Regions from separate parts of the Homo sapiens genome. Here all the other regions are linked to region 5. The links are contacts of gene promoters, found by promoter capture Hi-C in blood cells and fetal thymus (Javierre and others, 2016). All regions are on one chromosome and are shown on one strand. The core of a region is centred on a gene start or on the middle of the fragment in contact, and the rest is flanking DNA. Distances in the headings are between cores, read along the strand shown. Region 1 has its middle 250 kb from the start of BCL2. Region 2 overlaps BCL2 (BCL2 apoptosis regulator). Region 3 overlaps KDSR (3-ketodihydrosphingosine reductase). Region 4 holds the start of KDSR (3-ketodihydrosphingosine reductase). Region 5 holds the start of ZCCHC2 (zinc finger CCHC-type containing 2). Region 6 has its middle 22 kb from the start of VPS4B. Region 7 holds the start of BCL2 (BCL2 apoptosis regulator).

Region 1 (3,262 bases), core at 343-2,842, 550 kb before region 5:
AAAAAAAGCCAGCTCACAATAGCAGCAAAACTATAAAGGACCTAAAGAATATACATTACGTACCATTTTTAAGAGCTTTATGGGAAAAAATTATAGTTTTATTAAAGGATATAAAAGAAGATCTGAATAATGGGTAAGAGGTCTCAAAAGCATAAACATGTCAATTCTGCCCAAATTATCTATAAATTTAAGTAAATTCCAAATAAAATCTCAGCAGAACTTTTCTGTTCATTTGTAACGTGATTCTAAAATTCATATGGAAAAGTGAATTATCATTGCCAAGATAATTTCGAAAAATAAGAACAATGGGTGGGCAGGAGCAGTTGGCCTGCGGATTCTGAAACATTCTAGACAGTCACAGAAATTAAAATATAGTTGTCTGAGCAGAGGAAGAGGCAGCGGACAGAATAGAGAGCCTGGTGCAAATCCATGTTCATGCAGGATTCACATGTAGGGGCTACGTGGGATGTGGAATATGATAGCGGTGGCACTAGAGATCAGCAGGGAAAGATGAGCTTGTGCCATCATTGATGATGGAAGCATTGGCTTTTCATATAAAAGACTCCTACACTAATTATACAAAAATTAATTCCAGAAGAATTAAAGACCTCAGCACGAAAAATCGCAACTAAACACTACTGAGACGTGAGACCTCAACCACATCTTGAATGCAAAATTTCATCGAATGTGAATATCATAATTCTATGTATGGAAAATTTTTAAATAAGACAAAGCATAACTGTATGTTGTTCATGAAGATATTTTTTAGTTTAGTTTCTTTTATTTTTATTTTTTTATTTTTAAGTTTGAAGAATATCTTTATGGCCCAAAGTGAATCTGCCAAGCTTTTTAGGCCACCTTGCGTGCATTTTAGTTGTTTCCCCAAGGGAGAATCTGAATCGGTGCCTTCCCTGACTCTTTCCCAGCCAAAATGCGGGCACGTGACCAGGCCTGCCAATCAGACACGGGGGCCTCGGGCCGCGGGAGGGAGCTGGCTGGCTGCGCGTCTCCGGGAGCCGCTGTCATTTCAGTGGCGCATTCTGGGCAAAGGCGGTGTGGTCCCGGGGTGGGCAGCAGATTCCGGAAAGGGTCAGTTGGTTCTGGGAGTGTCCCTTTCATTGTCTCAGGCCTCTTTTCCCATCTGTCCCAAACGTTGTGTGAACTCCCTTCTGTCTCTCCTAAGTTCTTTTCTGCTTAAACTGGTCAGACCGGATTCTACTGCTTACAAATGACAACTGTAACTGACACGCAACCCTGCAGAACAGAAAACATCTTTATAACAAAACATACCCCATCAACGTTAGAGAGGAAAAAACAGGCCTCGAGAAGGTATTTGCAGGATCTATAACAAAGGAATTAATAAAGATATATACTGTATTTATCTTATCAGAGAATTTATCTTTAATGGAGAAAACTCGGATAAATAAAGAACAGAAGCACGCCCATAGGAAAGTGGAGGGAAGGAGAACAGGAAGTCCTCAGAAGCAGAAATCCAAAGGTCTTTATTATATATATTTGTTCTTATTTTTACAATTTACATAAGTAAAATTATGGCATTCATATTCCATACATTCCTTCACACAAGATAAGCGTACGTGAGACCTCAACCACATCTTCAGTGCAAAACTTCATGGAATGTGAATATCATAATTCTACTTATGTAAACATTTTAAATAAGAAAAAGTATAACTGTATGTTGTTTATGAAGTTTTTTTTTTTTTTTTTTTTTTTTTTTTTTTTTTTGAGACGGAGTCTCGCTCTGTCGCCCAGGCTGGAATGCAGTGGCGCGATCTCCGCTCACTGCAAGCTCCGCCTCCCGGGTTCACGCCATTCTCCTGCCTCAGCCTCCCGAGTAGCTGGGACTACAGGCGCCCGCCACCACGCCCGGCTAATTTTTTGTATTTTTAGTAGAGACGGGGTTTCACCATGTTAGCCAGGATGGTCTCGATCTCCTGACCTCGTGATCCGCCCACCTCGGCCTCCCAAAGTGCTGGGATTACAGGTGTGAGCCACCGCGCCCGGCCCCTGAAGATGTTTTTAAACTATTTTTTAAAGTTTGAAGCTGGAAGCACGCACTGCTAAATATGATAGTGCTGCCTTTCCAGCGTAGAGGGCTCAGCAGCCAAGCATCACAATCAAAAGGCTTCCGAGATTTAGTTGTATTTATTTCTGGGGGGGTGGAGAGATAAAGTATTTACAGTTATTAATGGTTTAATATGGATTCTTTCACTCCATTTCCTACACTTACAGAAGAATTACATGAGAGGAAATAATGGTATATTCTATGTGTAAAAATGACAGAGGGAAACTTCATCATAGAGTCCGGAAAAATAAGCTTTTGAAAAAACAAGTACATTTCTGTGGCTTTATTCTCAACTCAATTTTTAATTATGCATGCAATTTACTCCCATGAAATAAAGATAAAAGATCATAATGAGTCATTTATAATAATTTTACGTCTTAAATAAAGTAATGGAGCTTTTCCTTCTAACATGCCATGTTCTTCACAATGATCCTGTACCTCTGTGTAGCCATGACACCAAGCCTCCAAGATCACAACTGTGACACGCACCTGTCATTCACAGGCCAAGCCACAGGATGCCACTGTTGCATTTTTGCTATAATAGACTTTTACTTAAGGTGAATGAAGAAAGAAAAAAAGGAAACTCTATTTTTAATAAACAGACACATGGCAACCATTTAAGATTCAAGATACAACAAACCTTACCTTAGTTATTAGTTATGGCTAATTATTAAAATCCCTTTAAATTGGACTTTGAACATCACATATTGAAGTTGAGATTTCTATGCCAGCCATGTGCAATTGCTACATTTATAGACTCATGACATCTCTTAATATATTACTGACGGCCGGGCGCGGTGGCTCACGCCTGTAATCCCAGCACTTTGGGAGGCCGAGGCGGGTGGATCACGAGGTCAGGAGATCGAGACCATCCTGGCTAACAAGGTGAAACCCCGTCTCTACTAAAAATACAAAAAATTAGCCGGGTGCGGTGGCGGGCGCCTGTAGTCCCAGCTACTCGGGAGGCTGAGGCAGGAGAATGGCGTGAACCCAGGAAGCGGAGCTTGCAGTGAGCCGAGATTGCGCCATTGCAGTCCGCAGTCCGGCCTGGGCAACAGAGCGAGACTCCGTCTCAAAAAAAAAAAAAAAAAAAAAAAAAAAAAAAAATATATATATATATATATATATATATATATTACTGACTTAAAATAACATATTCACTAGTATTTAAGCCTCTCT
Region 2 (3,783 bases), core at 719-3,218, 640 kb before region 5:
GAGCAGATGTGATGAACTATTGGAGAAGTTTAGGAGATGTAGACATTAGTGACAGCTTGAATGGTCAGGTGAGGAAGGTAAGGAGATTTTCAGGTGGGATGAGCTGAGCTGGAAGAATGGGTTAAGATTTGGGTGATGAAGGTAAGAGTGCTCCCAGAAGGTAAAGATACAGACAGTGGTAAGGAAGGGTGGCCAGCCATGGTGACTCACACCTGTAATCCCAGCACTTTGGGAGGCCGAGGTGGACCAATGACTTGAACCGAGGAGTTCAAGACCAACCTTGGCAACATAGCCAGACCCCATCTCTACAAAAACTAGCCAGACATAGTGGCACATGCCTATAGTCCCAGCTACTCAGGAGGTTGAGGCAAGAGGATCACTTGATCCTGGGAATTCAAGGCTGCAGTGAGCTATAATTGCGACTGCACTCCAGCCTGAGTGACAGAGCAAAAGTTTCTCAATTTAAAGGAAGGAAGGAGGGAAGGAAGGAGGGATGGAAAGAAGGAAGGAAGGAGGGAAGGAAAGAAGGAAGGAGGGCAGAGTTTGGGGGTTTGGGAGGGTGAAGGCATGGAAATGAAGGCTCTGGTGTCTTCCTTGGAGGAGCAGTGAGGATGCTGCCCTAGTGGTAGCCAAGGATTAATTGTGCCAAGAGCATAGATGGTGCTAGAAAATCAGGCGACAGTAGCTGGATTATGAAGGTCTTCACAAAGCAGGCAAATGAGTTCAGATTTGGTTTAATAGAAAATAGGAAGTGAGAAAGAGGTAAGAAACACGATCTAGAATGCTGGCCAGCTGTGTCACCCGCGTGCCTGCCTGCACCAGTAGTGTCCCCGAGCTGGGCCTGACACCATTCTTTGGTGATGGTGGAATAAAGGCAAGTTGAAGAAATAAAAACATGTTCATATATGTGAGTTCCCAAGACAAACCACAGCAGATCCCAGGAATGTGTTTCTGATTGAGCAATGAAGACGTGTTGGTGGGGTTTTGGTTGGGGTGGGTGTGGGTGTCATCTCTGTTTCATGAGGTCTAAATTTCTACTGGCTCAGAAAAAGAACTTTGAGCAGTTTTTTGTTTATATGGGTCATCATCGTCTTCAATTTTTGTGGAGTTTTCTCAGAGCTTCTTGATGGTCTGCTAATACTAAAATAAATATATTAGGCCTTTTGCCTGTCTCTTCTTTTCTGTCACTGGGTGATGGCCTTTGTTTCCTCTAATGGACACATTCCAGATTTGAGTGCGGAGCGGGCAGTCCCTGGCTGCTCATGTCTGACATCGTTCCCTCCCTGTGTAGCAAAGGGAAATCAACAGCACGTGGGAGGGGGAATCTGTGTTCTAAGAACTGCTTTGGTTTACACATCTATAGATAACACTCAACCAGCACTGCAGGTCACATGGACCGGCTGGTGAGGCTGAGGATGAGTCACTTTTAAATTACTCATAGAGAAAGAAATATGTTTCTGAAAGCCAGAGTGGTTGGCTTACACATGGAGGTAAGAGAGAAAGCAGGCAGCTTCATAAAGCACTCAGACCTCCTGTGACAGCTGACGTGGTGTGTAGTGCGTCAGGTGGGAAGACGGGGCCCTGCGTCCTCAGCAATGTATTTGGAGGTGAGGCTTTTTGTTGATGGGAACCCCTGTGCTGGGACTTGGGGGTATTTAGGATACATTTCCATCTAGCTAGACTTTCTCTTACAGTCCCACTTTGTAAATGGCCCTAGGACCCTTGATTAACTTTCAGTAACACAGTCTAGTGGTGAACACCAAGCCATCTGAGGCTGAAATATGGAGAAGTATGTCAGTCCAACAGAAGGTCAGATGGGGAGGGGCGAGGGAGCTTTCAGAAAGTCTTGGAGTACAAGGGCCTCAGCTGAGCCTCGAAGGTCTTCATTCGTTGCAAAGAAGAAGGAATTCTGTCCCAAGCGAGATGGAAAGATCATCTGAGCAAAAAGAAAGCATCAGTGACAGAGGCTGCAACTTCATTTCACTGGCTGAGTCTAAATTTTTTTCACAGGAAAAAATATACAGAAGACAAGAGAACAATCACCAAGGAAGCCCAAGGCACTGCTTACTAAATTGGTCCAAGGGGGGGATTTCACCAAATGCAAATGAACAAAGAACAATACATGTGACTCAAAATATCCGTTATGCTCTTAATACTTACGAGAGGGTGTGAGGCAGGGAGGTGACCTTTTCAAGGGTTGAAAGCTGTCAACTTTTCAACCACATTGTTTTCATTGCTGGGAGATTGAAGACAGGATCACCTCAGGGTACCATTTTGGAAAAGTGATTTAAAAAAAATTAAAAACTCCTTCCTGCATAATGTTTTGGGACATTTTGAATTGTTTTTGCCGTGAAGACATAGAATTCAGGTGTCCAGGAAATACTGCAACCTTTTATGAGAAATGAATACCCAGAAGTCTAGAGCTGCCTGGCACTCACTCTGGCAGGTCTTCCACCTCTGGTCCCTCTCCAGCAGAAGGGCTAGTGAGCAGTTTAGGACCCCTGGAGCAGGGGTACCCTTACCCCCACCCCAAAGGAAGCGATGTGGCTTTTTTCTCGCAGCCCCGCCCCCATCCCTTTGACAGGTCACTAGAACAACAGAGTGCCCAAGTGGAGACAGGGAGGAATGTGATGGTTGGAGGGACCTAAAAATAACCATTTTTCCCTCATCCTGAATGTGCTACCCTGGGCCAGACATTCCCTGAAGGGCTCCTCTGAAATCTGGGAAACAGGAAATGCTAAGAAAATCTCTAATTTGCCTGGTCATGTGAACTCCTCTCGGTGTTGAAACAGAATTTTGGAAGAGGGGACTCTGCACTGTGGTTGAGCCCTCCTAATCAGAGAACATTTGCCCCTATGAGAATATGGTGGATGTGACTATTCAGCCTCAACTTCCCTCTTTCTAAACATGTAAACTCTGATGCCTAAAGAACAAAACCAGAAAAGAAACCCACTCGGTCTTAGTTGCGTATCTGAGTGCCGACAGGGCGGCTGAGAGGGGCCCACGTGCCTGTCGCTAAAAAGCCCCTTTGGCATTTCATAACAGGACCCAATCCCGCAGACTTGTCTGTGCAGGCTCACGCACCATCTTCAAAACCTTTACTACCTGTATTTGTAGTAGATGATTAATGATTAGGCTTTCTTCCCACACATTTGGCTTTGATAATCTCCACTCAAAAATATTCAGATGCAAATAATTTAAAAACAAAGTGGCTCCAAGGGCTCTTTCTGGGAGGATGGAAATGCTGCATATCTTGATAGGGGAGTGAGTTAAAGGGATGTATGCCTTTGTCAATATTCATAAAACTGTACACATGATATATTCATTTTGTTGTATGTAAATGATACTGAGAATGAAAACTCTTAAGATAATAAAGTGGGTTGAGTTTGGAAACCAGAAAAAGTGGACACGATGTAAATGACCCCGCTGAAAACGATTCGAGTTGGCCAGCAGAAACTAAGAAATGCGTACGCGTGGGCAGTCCCCACTGTGCGGGGAAATCTTTGCAAGGTGAGCAGATTCAGCTCAGCTCATAGAAACTCCAGCTGATTCTGCACATTCATCTGTGTTTTTGTAGGTGTTTTTGGTGTCTTTGTGTCCATTTCTGTTTGGCTCATTTCCCTACTCAATTGGATTTTGACTTCTATTTCCTGAATACAACACCCCCGCAATACCTAATATCCCAGGCCTGTGAAAAGTGAATGCCTAATAAATGTCCACTCACTCACTGAGATGGACTGCTTCTCCTGTCTCTGTTACATTCTATCAAAATTAGCCAGTGCA
Region 3 (3,485 bases), core at 986-3,485, 810 kb before region 5:
ACTCGACTTATTTCAGAGACCACATCTGTGTGCAAACCAGAACAGGTGGCCAAACAAATTGTTAAAGATGCCATAGTAAGTAAAATCCTTGTTTTCTGTACTATTTGTGTTTGTAGTACTATATTTCTGAAAAGATATTTGTCCAAGGACTTACTTCAAAACATCAATTATTAGAATTTTTTAGTCTGTCAGATTTGTCATATCTAATATTGGACTCAACTTTTCTTCTTTTAGACGCTTTATTGACTCCATATTAGTGAGTAGCCTCCTGAAAACTGATTGTATACCTTAATCTGAGGAACAGGTTTACTAGAAGGATGTCTGGAAACACCGGTTCTTTAAAAAGAAAATGAGACTTTCCTATGAGTGTAAACGATATATACTATGTCCCATATACACCTGGCTGCTTTCTCTCCCATTCCTGCTTCCCAGTATCATTTTCCCAAAAGTTAGCTAACGAGAAAGTGCCACCAGCCCCGTGGGCCTGTCCTCCTGTCTTCCCTGTTGATATGTTTTTTAATTCAGAATCAAAAATGGTATTTTAAGAAATGATGTGCTGTTTTGTAGAAGAACAACATATGTGCCTCATGCTTTTTGACAACATTTCTGTTAATGCGGAAAAATGCACATTTATGAGGGATGTCTGTAAACCACAGACCCACACTGAATTTGGAAAATCTATAGGACCATTGGAATGAGAGGTGTCAGCACATGGTGGACAGCCTTGAAGTGGCCTAAATGCTGTCACATTAGACTGAACTGAGCAGAATGAGAATAGTGAATTCTGTTGAAATATATACATGTGTGAAGAACTTTGTCCTGAGTGCATTAAAAGGCTCAGGAAGATGGCACAAGTGAGACTTTATTTTTCCTGCTTATCTCGGGTCAAAGCAAATGCATTTGGTGTTTTTTGTTGTTGTTGTTGTTTTGTTTGTTTGTTTGTTTTGAGACGGAGTTTTGCTCTTGTTGCCCAGGCTGGAGTGCAGTGGCACGATCTTGGCTCACTGCAACCTCTGCCTCCTGGGTTTAAGTGATTCTCCTGCCTCGGCCTTCTGAGTAGCTGGGATTACAGGTGCTCACAACCACACCTGGCTAATTTTTTGTATTTGTAGTAGAAATGGGGCTTCACCATGTTGGCCAGGCTGGTCTCGAACTCCTGATTTCGGGTAATCCGCACGCCTCAGCCTCTTGGCCAAAGTGCTGGGATTACAGGCGTGAGCTCCGTGCCCAGCCCATTCAGTGTTTCTAATGATGCTAAATAGCTCTTAGTATTTTGGCAGTATTCATTTAGTTTAGTGGTTTTCAAACTTTTCTTCTCTTGACCACTTTACATTCTTACAAATTGTCAACAACCCCAGAGAACTTTTGTTTATTTACATGGCTATATTTATTGATATTTGCCATATTTGAAATGGAAGCTGTTTGTAATATTTATTGATTCATTAAAAATAACAAAAATGGCTGGGCACAGTGACTCGTGCCTGTAATCCCAACACTTTGGGAGGCCAAGGCGGGCGGATCACCTGAAGTCAGGAGTTCAATACCAGCCTGACCAATATGATGAAACCCCGTCTCTACTAAAAATACAAAAATTAGTCGGGTGTGGTGACATGCGCCTGTAATCCCAGCTACTTGGGAGGCTGAGACAGGAGAATCGCTTGAACCCAGGAGGTGGAGACTGCAGTGAGCTGAGATTGAGCCATTGTGCTCCAGCCTGGGCAACAAGAGCAAAACTCCATATATATATATATATATATATATTCACATATATATATATATAAAGTCACATATATATATATATAAAGTCACATATATATAAAGTGACTTTTTTTAAACAAAATTTACTACTTTTCAAAACAAAAGTTCAGTGAGGACGGTGGCATTGGTTCACATTTTCACCAGTTGCTTTAAGGTCTGCATTAACAGCTGGATTCAAATAGCTGCTTCTGCATTCCATCTGTTGTAATAATGTTGTTTTGATGGAAGGATATACAGAAAATCTGGCCTGAGACAGATACGGAGTTGGGAAAGGGAAGACTATTTTACTAGGCTTTTCAGATAATTATGGACATTCTTTTTTGATATCAAACCCAAACTCAACAAATGGTAGTTTCTTAAAGGTTAGTTGCAGTATAGAATTGGAAACTACATCAATGAATGTTTTGTTCTCTGTTACATTAAATTCCATTGGTCCGTCTTGTACTTTGAATGGATCTTTTAACCATTCATGATTTCGTAACATTATGCATTAGTCATTTGGAAAATATGGGTTGACTGAGTGATCAGAAAAATCGCTTTCATCAGTATTACTGCTGATCTTATCATAAAAGTATGCAGCTGACAGTCTCGTGATGGTGGATACTAGTTTTTCCAAATCTTAATTTTTTCTTGAAGGCTCAGATTTCACATTGATGACACGTGGCCAGTTGTTTTTCCTGAAGTGACACACTTGCTTGCTTCGCTTTCTGCACATCTGCCACATACCTAAGTCTGAATTACTATAGATTTCCTGTCAATGGTCTTTCATATAAAAATTATGCTCTCCAGCCAGGCACGGTGGCTCATGCCTGTAATCCCAGCACTTTTGGAGGCCGAGGCGGCTGGATTGCTTGAGCTCAGGGGTTTGAGACCAGCCTGGCCAACATGGTGAAACCCCATCTCTACTAAAAATACAAAAATTACCCGGGTGTGGTGGTGCATGCCTGTAATCCCAGCTACTTGGGAGTCTGAGGCAGGAGAATCACTTGAACCTGGGAGGCAGAGGTTGCAGTGAGCAGAGATCACACCACTGCATTCCAGCCTGGGCCACAGAGTGAGATTCTGTCGAAAATAAATAAATAAACAATACAAATGATGCTCCATGAAAGAAGTGGCAGTTTAGCCCTTGACTTCAGGAGCTGCACAAGGACTTTTGTTCCAGGCAGTTGTCCCGCCCTGGAATGCAGTGCTGCGGAAGCGCGTTGGGCGCATTCTCATTTGTCACACAGAGTATTAAGAAGACATGTCCTCGAGGGTTGCCATTGAACAAAATGATGAATTTTCCTGCTTTATCAAGAGGATTTTAAAGCAAAACTGACACTTTGATTTTTAAAAGAATTTTAGAACTTGTATTTTCTTTGTGTATTATTTATTACTGCGAGTGCGTGTGGTAGTAGAGGTGACAATGACTCCTAGTACAGTTTGGCAAGAACCCCGTGGTTCTTGCCCATGTCTCTGCAGTTTTGCAGAGGCAAAACTGTATTTTCCATACAACACACTGTGGAAAAGACAATGAATGTCTTAGTGTTATTAGGACAATCATTTGTCCTTGGGGGCCCGCAGGGGTCCGTGGACTCACTTGTTGAGAACTGCCATCTGCCAAGGCCGTGCGTCCATTTCTGAGTGCTGATCAATGCTTTGTGACCATTTTATCTCACTTAAAGTGAACGAGCACACTCCACTGTTTCTGATGTGTCCGACTGATTTCTGTCCACATTACTAGGATT
Region 4 (3,434 bases), core at 277-2,776, 840 kb before region 5:
AATGAATATTTACAGTTAGCATAATTCTAATAGTCAAAAAGTGGAAACAACCTAAATATTCCTCAATTGATGAATGGAAAATTAAAATGTCGTATAGTCATACAATGGGATATTATTTGGCAATAAAAATAAATGAAGTATTAACATGTAGTACTTCATATCATGGATGAACCTTGAAAACATTACAGTAAGTGAAAGATAGGATGAAAAAGGCTACATATTATATGATTCCATTTATGTGAAATATCCCGAATAGGCAAGATTATAGAGACAGAAACATGAGGGATTGCTTAGGCTTGGGCGGGGCTTGGGAGGAAATGGGTCGTGACTGCCAATGAGTATAGGATTTTGGGGGGTTGTGACAAAAATGTTCTAAAATTTATGGTAGTGATGGGTCTACAACTGTGACTATATTAAAGACAATTTATTATAAGCTTTATTTATTTATTTATTTTTGAGACGGAGTCTTGATCTGTCACCCAGGCTGGAGTGCAGTGGCGCGATCTCACCGCAATCTCTGCCTCCCGGGTTCAAGCGATTCTCCTGCCTCAGCCTCCAGGGTAGCTGGGATTACAAGCATACGCCACCATGCCCGGGTGATTTTTTGTATTTTTAGTAGAGACGGGGGTTTCACCATCATGGCCAGGCTGGTCTCGAACTCCAGACCTGAAGAGATCCGCCCGCCTCAGCCTCCCAAAGGTCGGGGATTACAGGCGCGAGCTACCTCGCCCGGCCTATTACGCACGTTAAATCGGGAATTGTATGGTATAGTACGTGAATGAGACCTTAATAAAGCTGAGTTGTTTGCGTTATTTATTTGTTTTGAACCTGCTTGGTAAAGATGAACTCTGAACTCAATGAAATTGAATTACCTTAGTGATTCCTCAAAACTCCCTGTTAAGGCTTTCCGGTCCTCTGAAAAGCGAAAGTGGGCCGTGACCATCTTCTAAAAACGCCAAAAAATATGGAATGGAGCCCGGGATTTCAGAGCGTAGTCGCTGGGCTCCCAGGCTGAGCCCGCTCCGGGAGCCTCCAGCCGCCCTTTCCGATGCTCCGGGGCCTCCGAGCAACCCAGCGGGCAGTCCCAAGCCGAGGGCTGAACTCCAGGGAGGAGCGCTCGTCACGCCCACACTGGAGGCCGTGGCAGGCCTGGAAACCCGCCCTGCGGGGTCCTAAGAAGCCATTCGAGCTCCCGAAGAGCGAGTCTTCGCAGCCCTTCCCGGCGCGCTCGCATCTGGCGCTGTCCGGAGCCCGCTCGCGACGCACAGGGACGGGAGGCCCGGTTTCCACGGGAGAGGCTGCGGACTGCGGGCCCCGTCCCGAGGCCGGGGGAGTGGGAGACACCCGGCGACCCCCGAGAGGCGATTCTGGCAGTGGTGGCGGTGGCGGTGGCGGTGGCGGCCTACTCGCCCCCTGGAAGCACCGCCCCGCCTGGGTGGCGCGCGCGCCGGCTCCTCCTCTTCCCCTCCGCCGCGGCCCGCCCCGGCCCGCAAACCCAAACACTCCAGGCGCCCGCCCGCCGCGCGTGATTCTCGCCTCGCCGCAGCCCAGCCCTGCGCGCCTTGCCCGGCGGCCCCCGCCCGGCCGCTCCGGGCCCCTGGCCCCGCGGAGCGATGCTGCTGCTGGCTGCCGCCTTCCTCGTGGCCTTCGTGCTGCTGCTGTACATGGTGTCTCCGCTCATCAGCCCCAAGCCCCTCGCCCTGCCCGGGGCGCATGTGGTGGTGAGTGGCCTCCTGTTGCTGCCCCCCGACTTACCGGCCCGCGCGGCCTTTCCGCCGCCGAGGCCGCGTAGCCTACGTCCCTTTTTCCAGGCCGCGGTCCCCAGGAAGGCATGGCCAAATGGGGAAGGTCACCTGCCGCCGTCCACCCCGGCGCTTTTCCCCCGGCCCCGGCACCCGGCCTCGCGGACCCGCCCTCCGCAGCCTCGGGCTCCTCCTAGGGCCGGAGAGCGTGCGACGGGGGACCCCGCCGGCCGCAGGGTTCCCGGGGCCCCAGGGGTTCTGTGGCTGCTCGTGAATCCATGCAACATCCCTGGGATGTGGATGTTTTGTCCTCAGTTTTTCCGATGAGTCAACTGAGGCACAGAGAGGCTGAGAAACTTTGCCAAGGACACAGCGGTCGGTGGTGTGCAGGGTGCGGCGCGCGGCCCCGGGCGGGGGCAGACAGCGGGGAAGTGGGGTCCCAGCCGCCGGGACCCGCCGAGGCAGCTCGGAACTGGAAGATGGCCTGTGCGAGTGACGGGAAGAGCCGCTGCCAGAGGATTCCAGGAAGTGACTCACCTGGGGAAACTGCTCAGAACCCAGCGGGCTGGCGGTGGTGGCTTAGCGGTATTGGGACGCCTGTCCCGTCTACACTGCTTGTCTCTGAGCTCAGCGTGGCATCTGCTGATTGCTGCTCCAATGCAATCCTTTGCTGTTTTCTAGTGGGAAGGATGAGCTAAACGACAAGGCTTGTGTGCGAGGAATGAAGGAGAGGTGGATAGGTGTGATTTATTTCTTGGCGGAAGCTCGCATATTCAGCGATCCCTGTTCTGCAAATGTGGCACCTTTCTTAAACAGAGAGAATGCCTCCTTGCCTGCGCCCAGCACTTTCCCGTTTGCAGTGGCTTTCTCACGAGCATTCTCGTTTGGATCTCCCAAACCCGAGGCACAGTGAGGCGAGGAGTTAGGAGTAAGGAGGGTTGGTTACAAAATTGGCCGCACACCTCTTCCTGTCCTATCTCTGCACCGGAGATCCGAGCCTCCCCGCTGAGCTGGTATAAAATAAGATGGTCGTTTTTCTTAGTATGCTTTAAATCTGTACAAGGGTTTGTGAATGAGAAAATGTATCTGTTTAATTTCTCCTTTGTAAAGCTATTAGCTTTTTCCAACACCTCCTGTTCCTAATGGGGAAAGAGTGTGGATTCATTACAAAAAATAAATAAGAGAAAGGCAAAACTTGACACTCTAAATTCTGAAAGTTTTACATCCGCAAGAGAACTGCTGCCTCAAAAGCGTGGCTTTAAACCTTGGATCCTTTCAGAGCTTGAGTTTATAGAGCATAACTTTGCAAAAACTAAAGCTAAACGCAGAATGAAAATTGGAATTCCTTATTTGTAAGACAGTTTCACTGAGCCTTGACTCCAGTCCTTCCAGCCCCATCCCGCGGCAGGTCATAGGTGAGATAATAAATGCTGTGTCTGTTCAGGTGGACCAAGAAGAATTTATTTTTACCATCCCGCTTTAATACGCAGGATTATTATTTCACACTCTAAGTAATGTGAGAATGACATGAATAGTTCACATGGTGTCACCATCTGTCTTCTTTTTTAATGTCATAAGAAGAGTGAAAAGTGTAATTGTTCTTGAGATTTGTTAGGAGTTGACTGTGGTATTGTTGGGAGAGGGAGCTGATGGTTAAACTGTCTGCCCATACATAATTAAGAACAAACTTAT
Region 5 (3,642 bases), core at 728-3,227:
TACGTCAGATGTCTGCTGGGAACACAAGCCCTCAGAGCAGAAGCCACAAGGACCCGTACGACCCCTTTTAACTCAGGCACACACTGGGCAAAAAAAGTCCCTCTGTGCCAAAGACAAGGGCAGCTCGCCGGGAGCGCACCTTCAGGACACCCCGCCGAGGGCCCGGCAGAGCCCGGAGACGGGAGGCGGAGCCCCGGCCAGGCAGGCGGGGAAGGACGGCGCTGCCTGGGGCTCACTGCGGCTGGCTCTCACACAGGTTCCTCCAGCGCCCGGCGGCTCCCGCACCGAGCGCTGAGATGCTCAGAGCCAAAAACGTCCCGACACTTTTCCTCCGAGAGGGGCCCCGGGCGGGGAGCTCCACGTCTTCCGTGGCAACACCGTGGCACGGAAGGGACTTCTAGAGCATTCTGTGATGGCGGGTGGCTGTGTCTGCCGGGGTGTGGGGTGGGGTGGGGGAGTGGAACGGAGCGGCCCAGCGAGACGAAGCTCAGCCCTCTGGCGCTGGGAGCTGCCGGGTGGGGATTCCGAGCCACCTGCGCCGGGCTGGGGCTCGGGCAAGGGGCGTCCGAGAGCGAGGCCGGGGAGGCCGCCGGGGCAGCGATCGCACCGCGAGTCCAGGGAGGCTCCGTGCGCCTTACCTGGGCCCTGGGGCCGGCAAACTTGCACGGCTCTACCTCCACCTCCGCGTCCTCGGGGCCCCCGCGGAGCGCGGCGCGGAGCCTCTCCAAGTGTTCCCTCAGGGTGACCCGCTGGTGGAAGGAGAAAGCCGGGTGCAGCGAGGCCATGGTGAAGAGCAGCAGCAGTTCCTCCTGGGCCCTGGAGCCAAGCCCGCCGCCGACCCGGGGCTCCACAATGCCGCCTTCCGGGCCTGAGCCGTCCTTCTCGGCGTCCTGCTCGCCGTCGCCGTCCTCGCCGCGCTCGTCCTCCGCGCCGCCCCGCGAGCCCTCGCCCCGGGCCGCGCGCAGGCTTTTGAGCACCGAGTCCACCTGGGGTAGCAGGCGGTGCAGACGGCCAGCGGCCTCCCGGTTCTCCGAGCCCAGCAGCGCCAGGTAGACGATGAGGCGCGAGCGCACCGCGGGCTCTCGGAAGTCGGCCAGCGGCCCCGGGTCCGAGAGGCCGTTGGCCTTGGCCTCCGAGTCGCGCAGGTAGTGGTAGTCCTTGCGCGCCAGGTCCTCCAGGCACGAGCCAAGGAAGCGCAGCTCCAGCGGGTTGCACAGGTCCAGCAGCCCGCACATGAACTCCAGGCGCTGCGCCGAGCCCAGCACCAGCCCGAACCACTCGTATACCCGCTCCTGCTCGCGCAGCGCCGCCGAGGGCCCCCCGCCGCCGCCCGGCATACCCGCCCCCGCCGCCGCTCCACCAGCAACAGGCGGCCCGAGTCCCCGGGGCGGCGGCGGCGGCGGCAGAGGGCCCCGCGACGGGCCCGCGGGCGGCGGCGGCGGCGGCGGGGGGCGGCAGTCGCGGCGGCGGCGCGAAGGCGCCTTCGCGCCCGGCCGCGCGTCCGCCTCGGGCTCCTCCGCCTCGGGCGGCGGCTCCGCGGGGTGCGTTGGCTTCAGCGGCAGCTTCATCCTCAGCATCCTCGGCTAGGGCGGCGCAGACATGCGAGCGGGGGCGGGCGGGAGGGGCCGCGAGGTGGAGCACGGGCCGAGGCGGCGGCGCGGCCGTCAGGAGCGGGGCCCCTCCATGCCGCCGGGGGAGGGCCGGGGCCGGGGGCGGGTCTCGGCCGGCGAGGGGGGCGGTGGCCGGCCGGCGGGGTCGCTGGCGTCGTCTTCCCGGGCTGGGGGCGGGGCGTGCCCGCGACGGCTCCTCCCCCTGGGCTCCTCGCCGGTTCTGGGAGCCCGGGTGCGGGTGGGAGCAAGCGAGCGAGGGTGTCCTCCTTCCGCCTCCCTCTCTCCGCCGTCCGCGCTGAGCCGGGGCGGCGGTGCCTGAGCTGTTCCCTCGCGAGCCGGTGAGGACGGAGCGGCTGGGTGAGGAGGTGGAGCAGCCGGGCCGGGCGGAGAAGCTTGCGGGCTCCGCGCACCTCACCTCCGCCAATCAGCACCGCGAATCGACGGTGACGTCGCTCTCCCCGCCCCCTGGGGGGCCGCCTTTCTCCAGGAAGCCACGCCCAACTGCTGGCCGGCCGCCTCCCTCTCGGCGGCTTCCGTGCGGTCCTAAAGGCTGGTGCTCGGCAGGAGGAGGACGCGGGCTGGGGCCGTGGGGCGGCGTGAGGGTAGCCCGGGAGCGGTGAGGAGCGTGCGAGGCCCACGTGAGCGGAGGGACGCGGCCGCTCTCACCTTTCCTGAGGGCCCTGGCCCGGCTTTGGACTCCTGATTCTCCTCTGCTTGCCAGCTGCCGCCCCGCCTCCGCCAGTGGTGCCCGGGCTGCCTGCGCGGCCGGAGTGAACGCGTCCCGGGAGCAGGGGTTTCTCCGAAGTGAGTGCGCCAGCCCCGGGACGAGCTCGTTCGAGTCCTCACCGCCCAGTGCACTTCCTGAAAGCCGGCGGTGGGCTGTCTCCCACCTTGTGAAACTTTGCCAGGTGTCGCTCACAGGGGACTGGGTCCGGACGCGGGTGGCGGCGCTGGTTTGCGGCCCCGGTTTGCGGCCCCGGCGCCGCGATCCCGGGCCGCGCCCACGCCCAGGCTGGAGGCACCGTGCGCAGGTGGGGACGCGCGGCCGGGAGGTGCGCAGCGGGACCCGGCCGGCCGAGGGTGAGCGCTGCTGGGGACGCTCCTAGTCTGTAACGCTCTGTGAAAATTATTTCCTGGATAGTTTAGGAAAAGCCTCTCCCTTCCCCGCCCCTAAACCTCTATCTTTTGGGAATCATTGATTTGCTAAATGACATTTCGGTGCCTAACCCATTTTGAATCCTTGTTCTGCTGTGAATTTCATGTGACTGGAGGAATTTAATAAGCTACCAACTTGACAGGCTTTAAACTTAAAAAAAAAAAGTTTTGTTACGTTTTTCAGATTTAGGCTTCCAAGATGTTTACACTCGCACTGTTACTTTTTTTTTTTTTTTTTTTTTTTTTTAGCAACATAGTCCAAATTTTTAAAACTCAGCTGGATCTTTTGAGGGTTAATTAAAAGGTGGGTTAAAAAAAATCTTAAGACTTTAAATTTAGAAGTCCTACTACAGCTATGTAGTAGGAGTATGCAGAAAGATAAGAATCACATTGTAACTCTTTGCGGTGGTGCTGGAACATCTGTTGGGAGAGCATATGCTGAACTCTGTTCACCTCACAAGTTTATGTCCTAAGAGGCTCATTCACAGTTCAGTAAAAGGGTGAACTGAAGCCTGAATCAGTTTCGGGGATGAAAGGGTGAGAGGGAGAACTGTTTTCAGCACATTTGAGGTTGGCAAAATATATAAAAGTCACTCTTTCTTGTAATTTGCTAGTTCTTTACAGTCTTTAGATGTAATTTACAGCCAAGAAAACTTTATTATGAGGACTTATACGTCATTGCCCTTTTTTGCTGTCACCCTCAACTACCCTGGGATCTTCTACTCATATCTCATCTCCTGTTCCCACTTTTCTAAAGCTTAGGGTGAAATACTTAGGCAACTAGTAATAATATTAATCTTGCTAGATATTCACAGGTTCATAGTGAGCCAGCTGTCTAGATCTGGATATCTAGTGAGCAAATAAATTCTTTACCTCC
Region 6 (3,754 bases), core at 912-3,411, 920 kb before region 5:
TTCAAGACCAGCCTGGCCAACATGGCAAAACCCTGTCTCTACTAAAGATATAAAAATTAGCTGGGTGTAGTGATGCACACTTTTAATCCCAGCTACTCAGGAGACTGAGGCAAGAGAATCACTTGAACCCGGGAGGCAAAGATTGCAGTGAGCCGAGATCATGCCACTGCACTCCAGCCTGGGCCACAGAGGGAGATTCTGTCTCAAAAAAAAGAAAGAAAGAAAAAAGAAAAAAAAAAAAAAGAAAGAAAAAAGAAAAATTATACCTTTTCATTTAGTTGACTAATAACCATAGGTATTTGTGTTTATTACATACTTTCAAATATTAAATTATATTTCTTTTGAGATACTCCATAATTTAGAATTTTCCTTTATGTAAACTCACGTTTTTCCCAATAACTCTAAGCCAATGAGGCTTGGCTCCTCTCTCTGGGCCTTTCTTTCTCTCTCTCCTCAGTCAAACCCACCCTCTCTGCTGCTCCCATAAAACGTCTAGGAGAACTGGTTAATTTCCTCATAAGACAAGATATTTGGCTTTAGGATACAAATGTGACTGGGCAGGCTCTCTGCCCAGGGACTGGGCCCAGCTCCGAGTGGGGTTTGTTCCAACAGAGAATCACCCTAACAGGCCCCAACAAGAGGATCATGGGTTCCAGCTTCTAGGAATGAGGGCTTTTCTGCTACATGATGCCCAGCACCTTGTCTTCTGTGAATCTTGGCTCAAGAGAATGAATTCACACTTTGAGGAAGAATGGGGAAGAATTTTTGGGTGTGGTTTTTGGTTGTTCTGTGGGGGGTTTTGGCCATTAAAGAAAATAGCTCCCATTTCAGGCGCATATTCACCCCAGGAATGGGGTTGCTGAACTGTGCCTTTGAAGAATGAATGCTAGTACTCAAATCCATCATCACGATGGGCACCCTACCTTAGGGATGAAGTTTTATGTGGTAATAAGTAATAAAATATATATGTACGCATTTCGAGAGACATAGTTACATCTCATGGAATCAGAAGCAGAACAAGCTGTTTCCCCAGAGACTCTTTTTTTAACTTCCTGTCAGCCTCAGTGATGGCTCCACAAGTGTTTATTGCCAATGAGTGACATAATCGCTGTCTCATTCAGACAGCACATTTTGCAAAGACACTCCGTTTGACTCACTCAGACATACTGGGTGTGTGTGTGTGTTGTAATATTTCTATAAGCTACCACGTGCTTTTAATTTATTGAGTTTTCAAATGTCTAGGCATTCACTCAGGTTTAAAAGTAAGTACTCAAGAAATAAGCAATCTATATTTCCAACCACAACACTTGTTAAATTGAATAAACAGGAAAAAAAAGGAATGAAAAATAAGCTTTTTAGAACTATGTTTCAGGCTGAATGAGGTGGCTCACACCTATAATCTCAGCCGAGGCAGGTGGATAACTTGAGGTCAGGAGTTCGAGATCAGCCTAGCCAACATGGTGAAACCCCATCTCTACTAAAAATACAAAAATCAGTTGGGCATGGTGGCAGGCGCCTGTAATCCCAGCTACTCGGGAGGCTGAGGCAGGAGAATTTCTTGAACCCAGGAGGCAGAGTTTGCAGTGAGCTGAGATCGCACCACTGCACTCCAGCCTGGGCGACAGAGCAAGACTCCATCTCAAAGGGACAAAAAGAAAAAAAAAAAGAACTATGCTTCAAATGGCTCATAGAACATAAGGTAAAGTTCTGCACACTCAGGATTCCCCCGCCTGTACCATGACACGCCCTTGACTCATTGCTCATTTTAGGTAACTACCATCGCTGCCCTCCAGGTGCAAACCTCTCACCCTGACTTTACTATTTCTTTCCCGCTTGCTTCTCTGCCCTGATTAGTTCTCCCTGAGGCACACATCACCTCTGTTCACCACCCTACCACTATGGGCCGTTTTAGAAGCCCTGTTCTCCTGTGAACAGAGAGGGGTGTCTGTGTTTTGGAGTATGCGTTATTGGGTGTGGCAGCCACCTCCAGGCAGGTACACCCAATAACCCAATAATGCCTCTTTCCCTTACACTCTCAGGCTCTCCCACGAGCCCAGGCATGGCCACGATTAGCAAGCAAAGGTGTTGAAAGGAGTAAAGCAGAAAGTATTTTAAAGAAGGCATAACAGAGAAGACCCAGTTCTCCTAGGCCCCACTCCCACTCCAATAAAACAAAAGACCCTCTGATTTGGATGACAGAGGAAGAAGCCTTGGAAAGAAAGTAAGAGGGTAAGAGTCAGTGTAGGGGCCACAAAATTTGCCCTTCATTTGGTAAGTCGAGTTGGGGGTGGAAGGAGAAGTAGCAACACACAATAAAGCTCCCTTTTCACTTTCAAAATCCAAGAACAAGAAGGGCCTGAGCCTCAAATGCTGGAGGAGGCCCAGGGAGACAGCAAGTCTCTACCAAAAAGTCCCCCCTGGGGTTACAGGTCATGACAACCCTGGAGGGGTAATGGCAGTACAAGAGTGTGTCTAGGCCGAGCACCGTGGCTCATGTTTGTAATCCCAGCACTTTGGGAGGCCAAGGCAGGTGGATCACCTGAGGTCAGGAGTTCAAGACCAGCCTGGCCAACATGGTGAAACCCCGTCTCTACTAAAAATACAAAAATTAGCCAGGCATGGTAGCACGTGCCTGTAATTCCAGCTACTCAGGAGGCTGAGGCAGGAGAATCACTTGAATCCAGGAGGTGGAGGTTGCAGTCAGGCGAGATCACACCATTATACCCAGCCTGGGTAACAGTGAGACTCTGTCTCAAAAAAAAAAGAAAGAAAGAAAAAGAAAAGAAAAGAAAAAAGAGTGTGTCTAGGCTTGGGAGGGCATCTGGACATACCCATGGCCACCCCCTGCCAGGGGTCTATTGTGCCTCAGATGCAAAGCTCACATCCTAATATCTATCCCAGGGAGAGGAATAGTGCCTGAAGTGATCATCCTGAATATGGTTGAGCTTGTTCCAATTGTGACAAAGCTTTAAATCAGTAATGCCCCCAAATTACTGAATGTAGCTGGATATACTTAAAAGTAGCCAGACTATTTTTCCCTTTATGAGAACTAAATTCAGTTATCAAAAAAGTTACATTTTTGTATATCTGATTTTTGAAAATGTATAACATTACATGCATGATTTAACCTGTATTTTCAGACATTTCTTTGTATACCTGTCCCATCTCCATACACTTTAATACTTGGAATTTGACTTTGGCCCACTGGCACCACATCCCCTTACAATCTTCTCTAATGAAAGGTGAGTTTTGGCCAGTCCTCCCTCAAGGGAAGCGTTCCCTAACCACCCCTCCTCCTCCTTCTTCCTTTAAACACTCTCACAGAAGCTTCTCATCATAGCATTTATTGTACATGATTACCTATTTCATTATCTGTGATTATCTCACCTACTGAACTGTAAGATCCATGTCTTTTTTTATTGCTTCTATCTCCAGGATCAATAATGGTGCCTGTCCTAAAATTGGTATGCAGTAGAATCTAGCAGATTCTCTATTTACGAACATTCAACTCACAAACTTCACAGATATATACAAGCTCCTCTGGAAGACCAGAGTGCATCAAATCTAAACAGCAACAATATTATGGCCTAATCTCTATTACAAATACAGTTAACTTATAACTAACATAAACAGGTGGCTTTCCTTGGAACACACCCCACTCCGCTGCCTCAAAGGATTACTACTGGGACCACCCTTTGGCAAAATAAGCCCTATCTTCTTCTGTTGATGTCTTTCCTGATCTTCAAGGCCCAAT
Region 7 (3,539 bases), core at 11-2,510, 800 kb before region 5:
AGTGCGCGGACACCTAGGAAGCTACTTGAAAGTAAACACCACGCTCGGGGCGTCCCTAGACATTGCTTAAAACGTGCAGAGTCACCTGTCTTCACAGCAGGGCAGCGCTGAGGTCCCACTGCTGGGGGCGGTGGGGGGCGGCATTGGCCTGGGTCTTCCCCCGGCGGCCGAGCGCCGGTAACACAACGTGTGTGTGTGTAGGCGCGTGTACACACTCTCATACACGGCTAGAAAGGGTCCAGGCGACACACACACTCCCACATACACGGCTAGAAAAGGTCCAGGCGAGACACACACACACACACACACACACACACACACTCCACACACACTCACACGGCCAGAAAGGGTCCAGGCGGTTCCCGGCGCTTTTCCAGCCCTTGTTTTCATGGCGCACCCTCCCGCCAGCCGCCCCCCTCCGCACTCCGTCGTCCGCCCGGCCCGGCCGCGTGCGGTTCCCCGGGAGCCCCCACCCCGTCGCGGACCCCAGCGACCACCAAGTCCGCACGCGGCCTGCCGCAGGCCTGAGCAGAAGGCCCCGCGCACACCCACCGCGCCGCGGCCGCGCGGGAGGCCTGTGCCGCCCGCGCCACCCACTGGCCGGGCCCCGCGGGCGCAGCGGAGCGGGCGGGTGGCCGGCCCGGACGCGCCCTCCCCGGCCGCGGCCCCGCGCGCCATGTGCCCCCGGCGGGACGCGCCACTCCCGGGCCTGCCGCGGCGCCTTTAACCCGGGCCAGGGAGCGGGGCGGAGGGGGCGGTCGGGTGGCTCAGAGGAGGGCTCTTTCTTTCTTCTTTTTTTGAATGAACCGTGTGACGTTACGCACAGGAAACCGGTCGGGCTGTGCAGAGAATGAAGTAAGAGGACAGGCACCACAGCCCCGCTCCCGCCCCCTTCCTCCCGCGCCCGCCCCTCCGCGCCGCCTGCCCGCCCGCCCGCCGCGCTCCCGCCCGCCGCTCTCCGTGGCCCCGCCGCGCTGCCGCCGCCGCCGCTGCCAGCGAAGGTGCCGGGGCTCCGGGCCCTCCCTGCCGGCGGCCGTCAGCGCTCGGAGCGGGCTGCGCGGCGGGAGCTCCGGGAGGCGGCCGTAGCCAGCGCCGCCGCGCAGGACCAGGAGGAGGAGAAAGGGTGCGCAGCCCGGAGGCGGGGTGCGCCGGTGGGGTGCAGCGGAAGAGGGGGTCCAGGGGGGAGAACTTCGTAGCAGTCATCCTTTTTAGGAAAAGAGGGAAAAAATAAAACCCTCCCCCACCACCTCCTTCTCCCCACCCCTCGCCGCACCACACACAGCGCGGGCTTCTAGCGCTCGGCACCGGCGGGCCAGGCGCGTCCTGCCTTCATTTATCCAGCAGCTTTTCGGAAAATGCATTTGCTGTTCGGAGTTTAATCAGAAGAGGATTCCTGCCTCCGTCCCCGGCTCCTTCATCGTCCCCTCTCCCCTGTCTCTCTCCTGGGGAGGCGTGAAGCGGTCCCGTGGATAGAGATTCATGCCTGTGCCCGCGCGTGTGTGCGCGCGTGTAAATTGCCGAGAAGGGGAAAACATCACAGGACTTCTGCGAATACCGGACTGAAAATTGTAATTCATCTGCCGCCGCCGCTGCCTTTTTTTTTTCTCGAGCTCTTGAGATCTCCGGTTGGGATTCCTGCGGATTGACATTTCTGTGAAGCAGAAGTCTGGGAATCGATCTGGAAATCCTCCTAATTTTTACTCCCTCTCCCCGCGACTCCTGATTCATTGGGAAGTTTCAAATCAGCTATAACTGGAGAGTGCTGAAGATTGATGGGATCGTTGCCTTATGCATTTGTTTTGGTTTTACAAAAAGGAAACTTGACAGAGGATCATGCTGTACTTAAAAAATACAAGTAAGTTCTCTGCACAGGAAATTGGTTTAATGTAACTTTCAATGGAAACCTTTGAGATTTTTTACTTAAAGTGCATTCGAGTAAATTTAATTTCCAGGCAGCTTAATACATTCTTTTTAGCCGTGTTACTTGTAGTGTGTATGCCCTGCTTTCACTCAGTGTGTACAGGGAAACGCACCTGATTTTTTACTTATTAGTTTGTTTTTTCTTTAACCTTTCAGCATCACAGAGGAAGTAGACTGATATTAACAATACTTACTAATAATAACGTGCCTCATGAAATAAAGATCCGAAAGGAATTGGAATAAAAATTTCCTGCATCTCATGCCAAGGGGGAAACACCAGAATCAAGTGTTCCGCGTGATTGAAGACACCCCCTCGTCCAAGAATGCAAAGCACATCCAATAAAATAGCTGGATTATAACTCCTCTTCTTTCTCTGGGGGCCGTGGGGTGGGAGCTGGGGCGAGAGGTGCCGTTGGCCCCCGTTGCTTTTCCTCTGGGAAGGATGGCGCACGCTGGGAGAACAGGGTACGATAACCGGGAGATAGTGATGAAGTACATCCATTATAAGCTGTCGCAGAGGGGCTACGAGTGGGATGCGGGAGATGTGGGCGCCGCGCCCCCGGGGGCCGCCCCCGCACCGGGCATCTTCTCCTCCCAGCCCGGGCACACGCCCCATCCAGCCGCATCCCGGGACCCGGTCGCCAGGACCTCGCCGCTGCAGACCCCGGCTGCCCCCGGCGCCGCCGCGGGGCCTGCGCTCAGCCCGGTGCCACCTGTGGTCCACCTGACCCTCCGCCAGGCCGGCGACGACTTCTCCCGCCGCTACCGCCGCGACTTCGCCGAGATGTCCAGCCAGCTGCACCTGACGCCCTTCACCGCGCGGGGACGCTTTGCCACGGTGGTGGAGGAGCTCTTCAGGGACGGGGTGAACTGGGGGAGGATTGTGGCCTTCTTTGAGTTCGGTGGGGTCATGTGTGTGGAGAGCGTCAACCGGGAGATGTCGCCCCTGGTGGACAACATCGCCCTGTGGATGACTGAGTACCTGAACCGGCACCTGCACACCTGGATCCAGGATAACGGAGGCTGGGTAGGTGCACTTGGTGATGTGAGTCTGGGCTGAGGCCACAGGTCCGAGATGCGGGGGTTGGAGTGCGGGTGGGCTCCTGGGGCAATGGGAGGCTGTGGAGCCGGCGAAATAAAATCAGAGTTGTTGCTTCCCGGCGTCCCTACCTCCTCCTCTGGACAAAGCGTTCACTCCCAACCTGACCGATAACGCCTGCCATCTAAAAGTCTTTAACTTGCTTGCTAGTCGTGGAGATCCAAAGATCTAGCGTTTGTAATCCAGTAGGATGTGGTGGTAAATGGTACCCCTTCAGTGTTTCTCAAGCTGAAGGTCCAGGAGTCCCCAGGACCACCGTTTCCTGGCTTGAGCAGCTTGTTGGAACCGGAGGGAGGTTTCAGGGACTGCTTATGAACCAGATACCAGGTTGGGTCTTGACAGTCTGCATCCCAAACAAGCTCCCCTGAAACAAGCCCGTTGTACACTAAAATTGGAGAACAACCCGATTAGAAGAATAGACTCCACAGAAGACCAAGGGCATCATCAATCGGTAAAATTTTCCAAAAGAGGAAAACCAATGTAAGTCTTTTTCCCTGAAAAACTTAGTTGTGTTTGTAAA

Evidence for each region. Contacts are between HindIII fragments. The CHiCAGO score rates a contact against its expected background, and 5 or more counts as called.
Region 1: a contact is called between a fragment that was not itself captured here and the fragment with the promoter of ZCCHC2 in region 5, in 1 of 17 cell types (fetal thymus). The highest score is 7.4, in fetal thymus.
Region 2: a contact is called between a fragment that was not itself captured here and the fragment with the promoter of ZCCHC2 in region 5, in 1 of 17 cell types (naive CD8 T cells). The highest score is 5.2, in naive CD8 T cells.
Region 3: a fragment that was not itself captured here is called in contact with the fragment with the promoter of ZCCHC2 in region 5 in 2 of 17 cell types (naive CD8 T cells and fetal thymus); the score reaches 6.0 in naive CD8 T cells.
Region 4: the fragment with the promoter of KDSR here is called in contact with the fragment with the promoter of ZCCHC2 in region 5 in 4 of 17 cell types (total CD8 T cells, non-activated CD4 T cells, fetal thymus and 1 more); the score reaches 6.4 in total CD8 T cells.
Region 6: a contact is called between a fragment that was not itself captured here and the fragment with the promoter of ZCCHC2 in region 5, in 1 of 17 cell types (total B cells). The highest score is 8.1, in total B cells.
Region 7: the fragment with the promoter of BCL2 here is called in contact with the fragment with the promoter of ZCCHC2 in region 5 in 7 of 17 cell types (fetal thymus, non-activated CD4 T cells, activated CD4 T cells and 4 more); the score reaches 10.5 in fetal thymus.

The regions. Positions count from the first base shown.
Region 1 is chr18:63,073,005-63,076,266 of GRCh38, reverse strand. No RefSeq gene overlaps it. Among named protein-coding and RNA genes, the nearest start is that of BCL2, 250 kb to the left of the region's middle. RefSeq lists an enhancer at 2,489-2,538. The HindIII fragment of the contact is 1,490 bases long and covers 848-2,337 here.
Region 2 is chr18:63,159,553-63,163,335 of GRCh38, reverse strand. The region is part of intron 2 of BCL2 (BCL2 apoptosis regulator); the gene reads left to right. Among named protein-coding and RNA genes, the nearest start is that of BCL2, 160 kb to the left of the region's middle. RefSeq lists enhancers at 1,106-1,155, 1,356-1,645, 1,736-1,975, 2,386-2,505. The HindIII fragment of the contact is 5,416 bases long and covers 1-3,783 here.
Region 3 is chr18:63,335,390-63,338,874 of GRCh38, reverse strand. KDSR (3-ketodihydrosphingosine reductase) reads left to right here. Exons shown (of 10, transcript NM_002035.4): 8 at 1-75. Among named protein-coding and RNA genes, the nearest start is that of BCL2, 17 kb to the right of the region's middle. The HindIII fragment of the contact is 6,476 bases long and covers 1-3,485 here.
Region 4 is chr18:63,365,298-63,368,731 of GRCh38, reverse strand. It overlaps KDSR (3-ketodihydrosphingosine reductase), which reads left to right and starts at 1,526. Exons shown (of 10, transcript NM_002035.4): 1 at 1,526-1,721. The coding sequence starts at 1,614. KDSR-DT (KDSR divergent transcript) reads right to left here and starts at 1,408. Exons shown (of 2, transcript NR_186602.1): 1 at 873-1,408. It overlaps LOC124904317 (a long non-coding RNA gene), which reads left to right and starts at 1,732. Exons shown (of 2, transcript XR_007066400.1): 1 at 1,732-2,482. RefSeq lists silencers at 1,154-1,203, 1,314-1,763, 1,834-1,893, 2,244-2,293 and enhancers at 1,155-2,102, 2,142-2,436. The HindIII fragment of the contact is 10,630 bases long and covers 437-3,434 here.
Region 5 is chr18:62,521,360-62,525,001 of GRCh38, reverse strand. It overlaps ZCCHC2 (zinc finger CCHC-type containing 2), which reads right to left and starts at 1,977. Exons shown (of 14, transcript NM_017742.6): 1 at 639-1,977. The coding sequence starts at 1,577. RefSeq lists silencers at 84-213, 454-693, 1,584-2,083, 2,114-2,383, 2,614-2,723 and an enhancer at 695-1,268. The HindIII fragment of the contact is 5,111 bases long and covers 1-2,004 here.
Region 6 is chr18:63,442,116-63,445,869 of GRCh38, reverse strand. No RefSeq gene overlaps it. Among named protein-coding and RNA genes, the nearest start is that of VPS4B, 22 kb to the right of the region's middle. RefSeq lists a silencer at 1,020-1,129. The HindIII fragment of the contact is 1,615 bases long and covers 1,354-2,968 here.
Region 7 is chr18:63,317,490-63,321,028 of GRCh38, reverse strand. It overlaps BCL2 (BCL2 apoptosis regulator), which reads left to right and starts at 1,260. Exons shown (of 3, transcript NM_000633.3): 1 at 1,260-1,855; 2 at 2,077-2,947. The coding sequence starts at 2,363. RefSeq lists silencers at 384-453, 484-693, 854-1,043, 2,399-2,638. The HindIII fragment of the contact is 7,545 bases long and covers 1-3,539 here.